3 separate regions of the Homo sapiens genome follow, and regions 1 and 3 are each linked to region 2. The links are contacts of gene promoters, found by promoter capture Hi-C in blood cells and fetal thymus (Javierre and others, 2016). All regions are on one chromosome and are shown on one strand. Each heading gives the region's core, a stretch centred on a gene start or on the middle of the fragment in contact. The rest is flanking DNA. Distances are from core to core; before and after follow the strand shown. Region 1 overlaps UBR5 (ubiquitin protein ligase E3 component n-recognin 5). Region 2 holds the start of LINC03047 (long intergenic non-protein coding RNA 3047). Region 3 overlaps UBR5 (ubiquitin protein ligase E3 component n-recognin 5).

Region 1 (2,834 bases), core at 83-2,582, 130 kb after region 2:
CATTTGATATATGTTGGCCAGTTCTGCCATTTTAAGGTTTGATTCTTATTTCCTGCCTCAGACCTGCTCTTCTGCTTTTTTTGTACTTACTCTAATAGGTATTTAGGAGTAGTGGGCAGAAAATAGAGCTTTCTAAGCTCTTGCCGTCTGGTTAGTTTAACTGAAGAGGAGCTCTTAAAAAACATGCCCAGGTCTTCTGTATTGCTCCCCCACCCCTTCCCCCTTTATTTGATTTTATTTTTGACATGGAGTCTCACTCTGTCACTCAGGCAGGAGTGCAGCTTTATCAAGTATATGATAAAGCAAAAGCACATTGATGATGGCATATCACCTTCTGAGTTTGAAAATGTTTGTTTACCTTTGATTTCTAATGGATTAAGAGTGTTGCTCTTGTTTTTTGGAAATGCTGTTTATTAGGTCCTAGTACTGCCACATGCTCAATGAGAAACTTTTTAACTTCTGTTTTCCAGGAAACCCATTGTTCTGTGTATTAGACTGTAATAGATATTACCTTGTGACTTGACACTGCTGAATAGAATGTTTTGAGATGTTTCATCAAAACTTTACACCAAGGACGATTTTAGGATTTTATTTTATAGCTGAGGAAACTGAGGGCCGGAGTGCTTAGATTAGTTAAGTGGCAAAGACTCCACCCTACATTAACTTAGCCTTATTGCTTTTCCTTTGAAAAGGGTAGAGGAAGTTACTTGTTTTTCTATGTGTGTGTGTATGTAATTATATATTAATGTGAACACACACTGTTTGTGTGTATGTATGTTTGTGTATATATGTAATTATAAATATGAATACACTGTGTTTGTGTATATGTAAACAGGTACGTGTGTGTGTGTGTATATATATAAATAGATATATGTGAAATCATTAAAAGAGTGTTTATTCAGCAAGATTTGGGGGCGTCTGCTGCCTGTCAGTTCTAGTCTTGGGTGTCTGGTGGTGGTGTTTGGTTCATGAAAAAGAGACAGTTACAGGACAGTGTGACAAGTACAGTGAAAAGGGAAAGTTCAGGATTCTTCACTAGAAGCACCAGTTCAGTCTTGGGCAGGGGAAAAGCTTACCTGAAGAAGTGTTGAAAATGAGAATAGGGATTGTGAATGAAAAGGAGGTAGGCTGAGAGAGGCTGGTGGGAGAGCTGTAGGATGTAGGACGTAGGACAAGGTGTTAAGAACTGGAAGAGCTCCCTAGGCAGAAGGAACAGCACATGTGGAGACCGTGAGAGACTGCTGTGTATTTGAGGAACTAAAAGAAGCCCAGAATGCTTAGACTGATGAATACATAGAGTTTCAAATCAGTTGAATAATGTTCTTGTAGAAAAGGATACCTTGTTAATTATCTTCAATAATGACTTTGGTCATATCATGATCAAGTAAATAAGATGTGCTAGGCCATAAATTGGCCATAACTGGTTAATGTAGTTGGTTAGGCTTAGAGTAATGGAACCAATGCACTAAGGAGTGTGAATTCCATTTTCCATGTAGGCAAGTTGCTTGATTTTGTGGCTACAAAGAATGTACTTCACCTCTCTCCAGCCAAGTTGTTGGTGTTTGCCATTGTTAATGAGGATGATCAAGCTTGAATGGATGATTCAGTTCAAATGCCTCACTGTTATTGGGAAAAAACTGCAGATCTTTTGGAGAAACCAGTAGAATCACGGAGCTGAATAAAAGACAATGTGTTTTTCTATCTAAGAGGTGAAAAAGTCTATGATATTAACTGTGGTAAAGACTAAAGTTTCATAAGTGCTAAAACAAAATGACGGTATACTTGCCTCTGGGTTATGGTTGATTACTTTTGATATTTCTTGATATGATTTTGTATTTTATATACTTCTGTATATGAGTATATATTATTTTAATAATAGAAAAAGAATAAATTCTGGCCGGATGCGGTGGCTCGCGCCTGTAACCCCAGCACTTTGGGAGGCCAAGGCGGACAGATGATGAGGTCAGGAGTTAAGAGACCAGCCTGACCAAAATGGTGAAACCCTGTCTCTACTAAAAATACAAAAATTAGCTGGGCGTGGTGGTGTGCGAATGTAATCCCAGCTACTCAGGAAGCTGAGGCAGGAGAATGGCTTGAACCCGGGAGGCAGAGGTTGCAGTGAGCCGACTGTGCCACTGCACTCCAGCCTGGGCGAGGGCGAGAGTCCGTCTCAAGAAAAAGAAAAAGAATAAATTTCTAGGAAAGTGTTTTAGCTTATTTAACTATTCACCTAAAATAAGAACGTGAAAATCATTGAATAAAGAATAGTAATTTAGTTTCACCTAAAATATTTTTTCCTCTAGAAACTTTTTATTGTTATTTTTTAAGACAGAGTCTTGCTCTGTTGCCCAGGCTGGAGTGCAGTGGCAGGATCTTGGCTCACTGCAACCACCGTCTCCCTGGTTCAAGCAATTCTTGTGCCTCAGCCTCCAGAGCAGCTGGGACTCCAGGCGTGTGCCACCATGCTCGGCTAATTTTTGTGTTTTTAGTAGAGATGGAGTTTCACCATGCTGGCCAGGCTGGTCTCGAACTCCTGGCCTCAAGTGATCCGCCTTCCTCAGCCTCTCAAAGTGCTGGGATTACAGGCATGAGCCACCATGCCTGGCTCTAGAAACTTCTTAAAAGAAACTTTGCTCTGTCCCCCTGACTGGGGTGCAGTGGCGTGATCTCAGCTCATTGCAACCTCCACCTCCCAGGTTCAAGCGATTCTCCTGCCTCAGCCTCCTGAGTAGCTGGGACTACTGGCGTGTGCTACCATGCGTGGCTAATTTTTTGTATTTTTAGTAGAGACGGGGTTTCACCATGTTGGCCACGCTGGTCTCGAACTCTTGACC
Region 2 (2,869 bases), core at 365-2,864:
AGAGGAGGTAATATCCCTGAGGCACTGCATCATCCCTGGCTGGTTTCCGTAAACCCAGCTTACACCTTTGTACCTTTTTTATTAGATGTCCCTCAATTGCCCAGGTTTAGTGTGCCACCTGTTTTCTGTCGACCCTGACTGGTGCTGGCAAGATGTACGAAATCAGAATCTAAGTTCTATTTATAAGAAAGTTCATTAGCAGCATTACCTATAATAGCAAAAACTCAAAACAGAAACAAATAACCAAAATAAGAGACTGATTAAGCAAATTATGGTACCTGCATATAGAATATAAAAATATAGATGGGTGCAGTGGTGTGTGCCTGTAATCCTAACTACTTGGGAGGCTGAGGAAGGAGGATCACTTGAACCCAGGAGTTCAAGGCTAGTCTGAACAACATGGTAAGACCCCCGCCTCAAAAACAAACAGAAGAATATAAAAATATATTAACAATCATCTTCTTAAAGAATATTACTGAAAAGATAAAGCATACACAGTATATTCCTAAATTAAAAACACGCAAAATTGTGTATATAATAATGTCCCATTTTGTTAAAAAAATTTAAAGGGAAAAACATTAAATCATATAATGTTACATTTTAATAAAGAGTATATAAATATGTGCTTACATATCATATATAAAACAGTATATGTGTTATGTTTGTTTTATAGATGTTTTATAATATGCCATGTTACATTTACATAATATACAATGTATACTATATATATAGATTTATTGATTCATTATATTATGTCACTTTTTATAAAGAATTCTCTACGTCTCTACCGGTACATGTTTATGTCATGCATCTGTTATATAAACCACATAATATACATGTTACAAATCACATACATGTATATATATGCATGAATGTACAGCGCTCTCCCACGTGTCATCCGAGGTCACTCTGGGACTGAAATAAAACGGGTTGTATCCTCCAGTCCACGTTGGCGTAAAGTACAATGAACAGTGTCCTCCTCAAGTTTATCCAGATTCCCAGGAGCTCACTGCTGCCTCTGGACTGTGGGGTTCATTCTCAGACCAACCAGACTTCTTTTTTCCCTTCTCTGCTCCAGCTCAGAGGTGGGATTCAGCCATTTCTCTGGATTCCTCCAAAACCACCTTCGCAAGGAAAATGAGCATGTGGCAGATGTTTTCTTTCTTCTTTTTTTTTTCTTTTTAGAGATCGGATCTGGCTCTGTTGCCCAGGCTCGTCTTGAACTCCTGGGCTCAAGCAATCCTCCCACCTCGGCCTCCCAAAGTGCTGGGATTACAGGCATAGCCTGTACCACGCCCAGCCTAACATTCTCTCAATGTTCAGAGCAGCACAGCGTGGATGCCTCTTATGTAGAAAGCCCCCACTGCTTGCAGGGCTCTGGCTGCCGGGGTGGGGCGGGGCCTGGGGGCGACGGTATTTGCGCCCCTCCAGGCTGGCCCTCCCTCTAGGATTTCCTCGCTTCAGTGTGTCCCCCACCTTCCCATCTCGTGCTACACCTCCTGGCATTACAGACAAGACCCCTTGATGACTGTGACAGACATCCGGTCTGGGACAGAAGATAACAAAGAGAAAGCCTTACCAGTCCATCCTCCCACAGCCACCAGGAGGAGTGAGAACGATGCCAGCACAGCTCAGCACACAGCACAGCGCACAGCACAGAGCACGTAGAACACAGCGCACAACAAAGCACACAGCGCACGGAGCACAGCACAGAGCACACACGCGCAGCACACAGCGCACGGAGCACAGCACAGAGCACACAGCACAGCGCACACAGCACAGCGCACACAGCACAGAGCATGCAACACAGCACAGAGCGCACCGCGTGCACAGCACACAGCGAGCACGGACCACACAGCGCACGGAGCACACAGCGCACGGAGTGCACAGCACAGCGCAGGCTTCTGGAGCAGATTCTGGAGGAAGTCCTGGTTCCGCCACTTACCAGCTGTGCGGTTTGGGGCACAGTTCTTCCCCTGCCTTAGTTTATTTATCTACAGAATGGGGTGGGACTAATATTTAGTAGGGTTGCTGAGAATTAAATGAGTTAAATATAGAAGAATATCTTTGAACTTGGCAGGCAGTAGACAAAAGTTTCTTAGAGTTAATATGTATGAAGTGCTTAGTGTTTGGCACATAGTAAATAATATTCGATGTTATGTTTTTCTCCACAAATACGAATTATGTCCTCAGCCACCGTAACTGCCCAAGGGGTTCACCTTGCCTGCTGCCTAGACTGAGCCGATTCATCAAGACAGGGGAATTGCAATAGAGAAAGAGTAATTTACGCAGAGCCGGCTGTGCAGGAGACCGGAGTTTTTTTTATTACTCAAATCAGTCTCGCCAAGCATTCGGGGAGTCGAGTTTTTAAGGATAACTTGGTGAGTGGGGGGAAGCCAGTGAGCCAGGAGTGCTGATTGGTCAGGGATGAAATCATAGGAAGTCGAAACTGTTGTCTTGTGCTGAATCAGTTCCGGGGGGTCCAGGGGCACAAGATCCGATGAACCAGTTTATTGATCTGGGTGGTGCCAGCTGATCTATCAAGTGCAGGGTCTGCAAAATATCTCCAGCACTGATCTTAGGACCAGTTTAAGGAGGGTCAGAATCTTGTAGACTTCCAGCTGCATGACTCCTAAACCATAATTTTTAATCTTGTGGGTAATGTTAGTCCTACAAAGGCAATCTACTCCCCAGGCAAGAAGGCGGTCTGCTTTGGGAAAGGGCTGTTACCGTCTTTGTTTAAATTAGAAAAACTAAGTCTCTCCCAAAGTTAGTTCAGCCTATGCCCAGGAATGAACAAGGACAGCTTGGGGGTTAGAGGCAAGATGGAGTCAGTTAAGTTAGATCTCTTTCACTGTCTCAGTCATGA
Region 3 (2,794 bases), core at 121-2,620, 220 kb after region 2:
TCTGATAGAGGAAGTGAATGTGAAGACATTTTAATAGATGTCTCTTCTGATAGAAGAAGTGAAGGTGAAGGTTCAGGAATTTGGTTTTAGACAGGTGAAATTTAAGTTGTCTATTAGAAGATTATCTGACAGATTCCTGGACCAAGAGGAGATGGCAAGTAGAAAGTTAGATGTGTAAGTCTGACTAAGAGAGAAAGGCTCAAGCTGGAGAAATTTACTTGGGAGTTGTTTATTTAGAGGAATTATATTGAACAAGATCATGGAGGTGGTGAGGAGAAAAGGTCCAAGGACTAAGTCCTGAGAATAGTCTCAACATTTAAATGTTAGGGTGATAAAGAGGAACGAGCATAAGAGATCGAGAAGGAACATCCACAGGGTTGGAGGAAAGCTAGAATGAGTTGTGTCCTGGAAGTCAAATGAAGAGCACATGTCAAGCAGGATGTTGGGACCAACTGTGTCAAGTGATGTGGTAGGTCAGTGAAGTGAATACTGAATATTGACTGTTGGATTTAGCTCCATCTAGGTCATTATTGATAGTGGGGATGAAAGCATTAGAGTGAACTTAGGAGAAAATGAGAGGTGAGGAACTGAAGATAAATATCAGCAACTTTTTTGAGCAGTTTTTCTATAAAGGATGGAAATGGAGTTTAATATGGGAGCATATTCACCCTCCATTAGATTGGAGGTGAGAAGTACTTTTTAGAACTGCATCTAAAATAGACTGAATCCAGGTGCTTATGAGCACTATCTGTAAGCTTTTATTTAGACACCCAGACTCATTCTTAGCTTAGCTTTGCTTGTAACCTACTGCACTAGTGGTTTCAAACTAAAGGAGGTGATGATACAGAGGTAGCTGTGGTCTGAACTTGATGTCTAGAAATAGCCTTCATATCATTTTAGAATTCTTGATGGGTTACCAATATTGAAAAATCACAGGATTTACATTTAAAATCCAGATTTTAATTTTAGAAGATCTGGTGAAATTGGGCCTCGTAATCTACATCCCAAAAACATTAGACTGGTCTTTACAATTCATTGCAGTTCTCACTACTTAGAGTTTGTTGCTCCAAGTGCTAGTGATGCCATTTAGTATACAGCTTCTGTTATCTCTTTTACACACAGCCTCCTTCATTCATTTATATTACTTCAAGTGTAGGCATTTGATTCTGTGACCTCTTCACTTTGTCAGGATCTGACAGGTAGAGTCATCATCCCGCAGGTAGGGATGAAGTGTGTCATGATTAGTCTTTATACCTACCTCAGTGACTAGGGCCTACCACACAGTAGACCCACAAGAAATTTTTTATTGAACTCACTCTGCCTTTTGCTATAAGAATAACTGACAGATGTAACATACAATGATGCAGAGTAAACTTTTCTGCTTGTAACACAACTAAGTAGTATTGATACTCTCAGTGTGAGAGCCCATCTACTATAGTCTGGCAGGTTGGAGATAAGAGTTTCCTGTAGAGTAGTAGCTGCTTCTAACTAAATAATTTGCTGTTACTTGAAACCAGTGTATATGACAGCACCGTACAACAGAATATCTTGATTTTAGTTGCCCTTTGAAAGTACTCTGTTCTTTGTTCTTCAGGGAGACTTTGACATTTTCTCTCAACACATATTTTGTATAAATTTCCCTATGTTTTGGAAAGTTTAGTATTAAGCTCCTCATGAACTGGAGCTTGCTGTTGATGAGGTGACTTCAGAGCCATAGTTAGTTCCACAATCAAAGTGGCCTGTCTCACGTGTAGTGGATAGTGAAAATAGTTGTTTAGGTGTGTTTTCTTGTGTGGACATCTGTTCTCCACCCGCTCTCAAGTTGGGGATAGGGGAGAGCTTATTTTGACAGTTTTCCAGAAGGTGGCAAGTTGTTCAAATGCAGTTTTTTTTTTTCCTTTATACTCCCACATGCTCTTTTCCCACCTGCTTTTTTCTAGTTATAGTTAAAATGAACAACTTTGTTTTATAAAACTAAAGCTTTATATTCGATTCATTAAATATTCCACAACTACAGTTTTCCAATGTGAAAGAATGAACTTCTTGGTATATTCATGCTATTTGTCAGAAAGCTAATGATATGTTCTATAAATACTTATCAGTACCACTGTGTCTTTGTTAATTAAATTACACCTGTCATGATCCCTGCAGAATTGAAGGTATCGGTTTTCATATAACCTTTAATAGCATAAGAGGGCTGGGTGTGGGTTGCTCATGCCCAGCACTTTGGGAGGCTGAGGTGGGGGCATCACTTGAGCCCAGGAGTTTGAGACCAGCCTGGGCAACATGGCAAGACTGCCTCTACAAAAAATCAGCCTGCTGTGGTGGTGCATGCTAGCTACATGGGAGGCTGAGGCGGGAGGATTACTTGAGCCCAGGAGGTTGATGCCATAGTGAGCTGTGTTCACATCACCGCACTACAGCCTGGAAGACAGAGTGAGACACTGTCTCACACACACACAAAAGCCTAAGAAGGTGGGAGTAAGCCTGGAATAAAATTTATATCCTTTGCTTAATTGGCTATCATTATTAAAAGGGTTCTAATTAGATAGATAACATGAAGTAAAAACCAAGGATTGGCAGACTATGGCCCAAAGGCCGAATCCAGCCACTCCTATTCATTTATGCATTGTATGTGGCTGCTTTCCTGTTTCAGTTGCAGAGCTGAGTTAGTTGAGAAAGCTAAAAATATTTACTTGTCCTTAACAGAAAGTTTACCCTCCCTTCTCTATTCCTGTCGATTGTATGTTCTGCTTAAAGTGTACCCTTAAGTTCTGTTTCTTTTGGTAGGCCA

The links. The method cuts DNA at HindIII sites, captures the fragments that hold promoters and counts their contacts. A CHiCAGO score of 5 or more calls a contact.
Region 1: a contact is called between a fragment that was not itself captured here and the fragment with the promoter of LINC03047 in region 2, in 3 of 17 cell types (M1 macrophages, M2 macrophages and M0 macrophages). The highest score is 5.3, in M1 macrophages.
Region 3: a contact is called between a fragment that was not itself captured here and the fragment with the promoter of LINC03047 in region 2, in 1 of 17 cell types (activated CD4 T cells). The highest score is 5.4, in activated CD4 T cells.

The regions. Positions count from the first base shown.
Region 1 is chr8:102,393,421-102,396,254 of GRCh38, reverse strand. All of the region lies in intron 1 of UBR5 (ubiquitin protein ligase E3 component n-recognin 5), which reads left to right. Among named protein-coding and RNA genes, the nearest start is that of UBR5, 18 kb to the left of the region's middle. RefSeq lists an enhancer at 1,129-1,208. The HindIII fragment of the contact is 518 bases long and covers 1,074-1,591 here.
Region 2 is chr8:102,527,566-102,530,434 of GRCh38, reverse strand. LINC03047 (long intergenic non-protein coding RNA 3047) reads right to left here and starts at 1,614. Exons shown (of 2, transcript XR_001745731.2): 1 at 1,580-1,614; 2 at 584-1,124. RefSeq lists enhancers at 1,268-1,317, 1,388-1,437, 1,618-1,837. The HindIII fragment of the contact is 12,429 bases long and covers 1-2,869 here.
Region 3 is chr8:102,305,426-102,308,219 of GRCh38, reverse strand. All of the region lies in intron 20 of UBR5 (ubiquitin protein ligase E3 component n-recognin 5), which reads left to right. Among named protein-coding and RNA genes, the nearest start is that of UBR5-DT, 67 kb to the right of the region's middle. The HindIII fragment of the contact is 1,225 bases long and covers 758-1,982 here.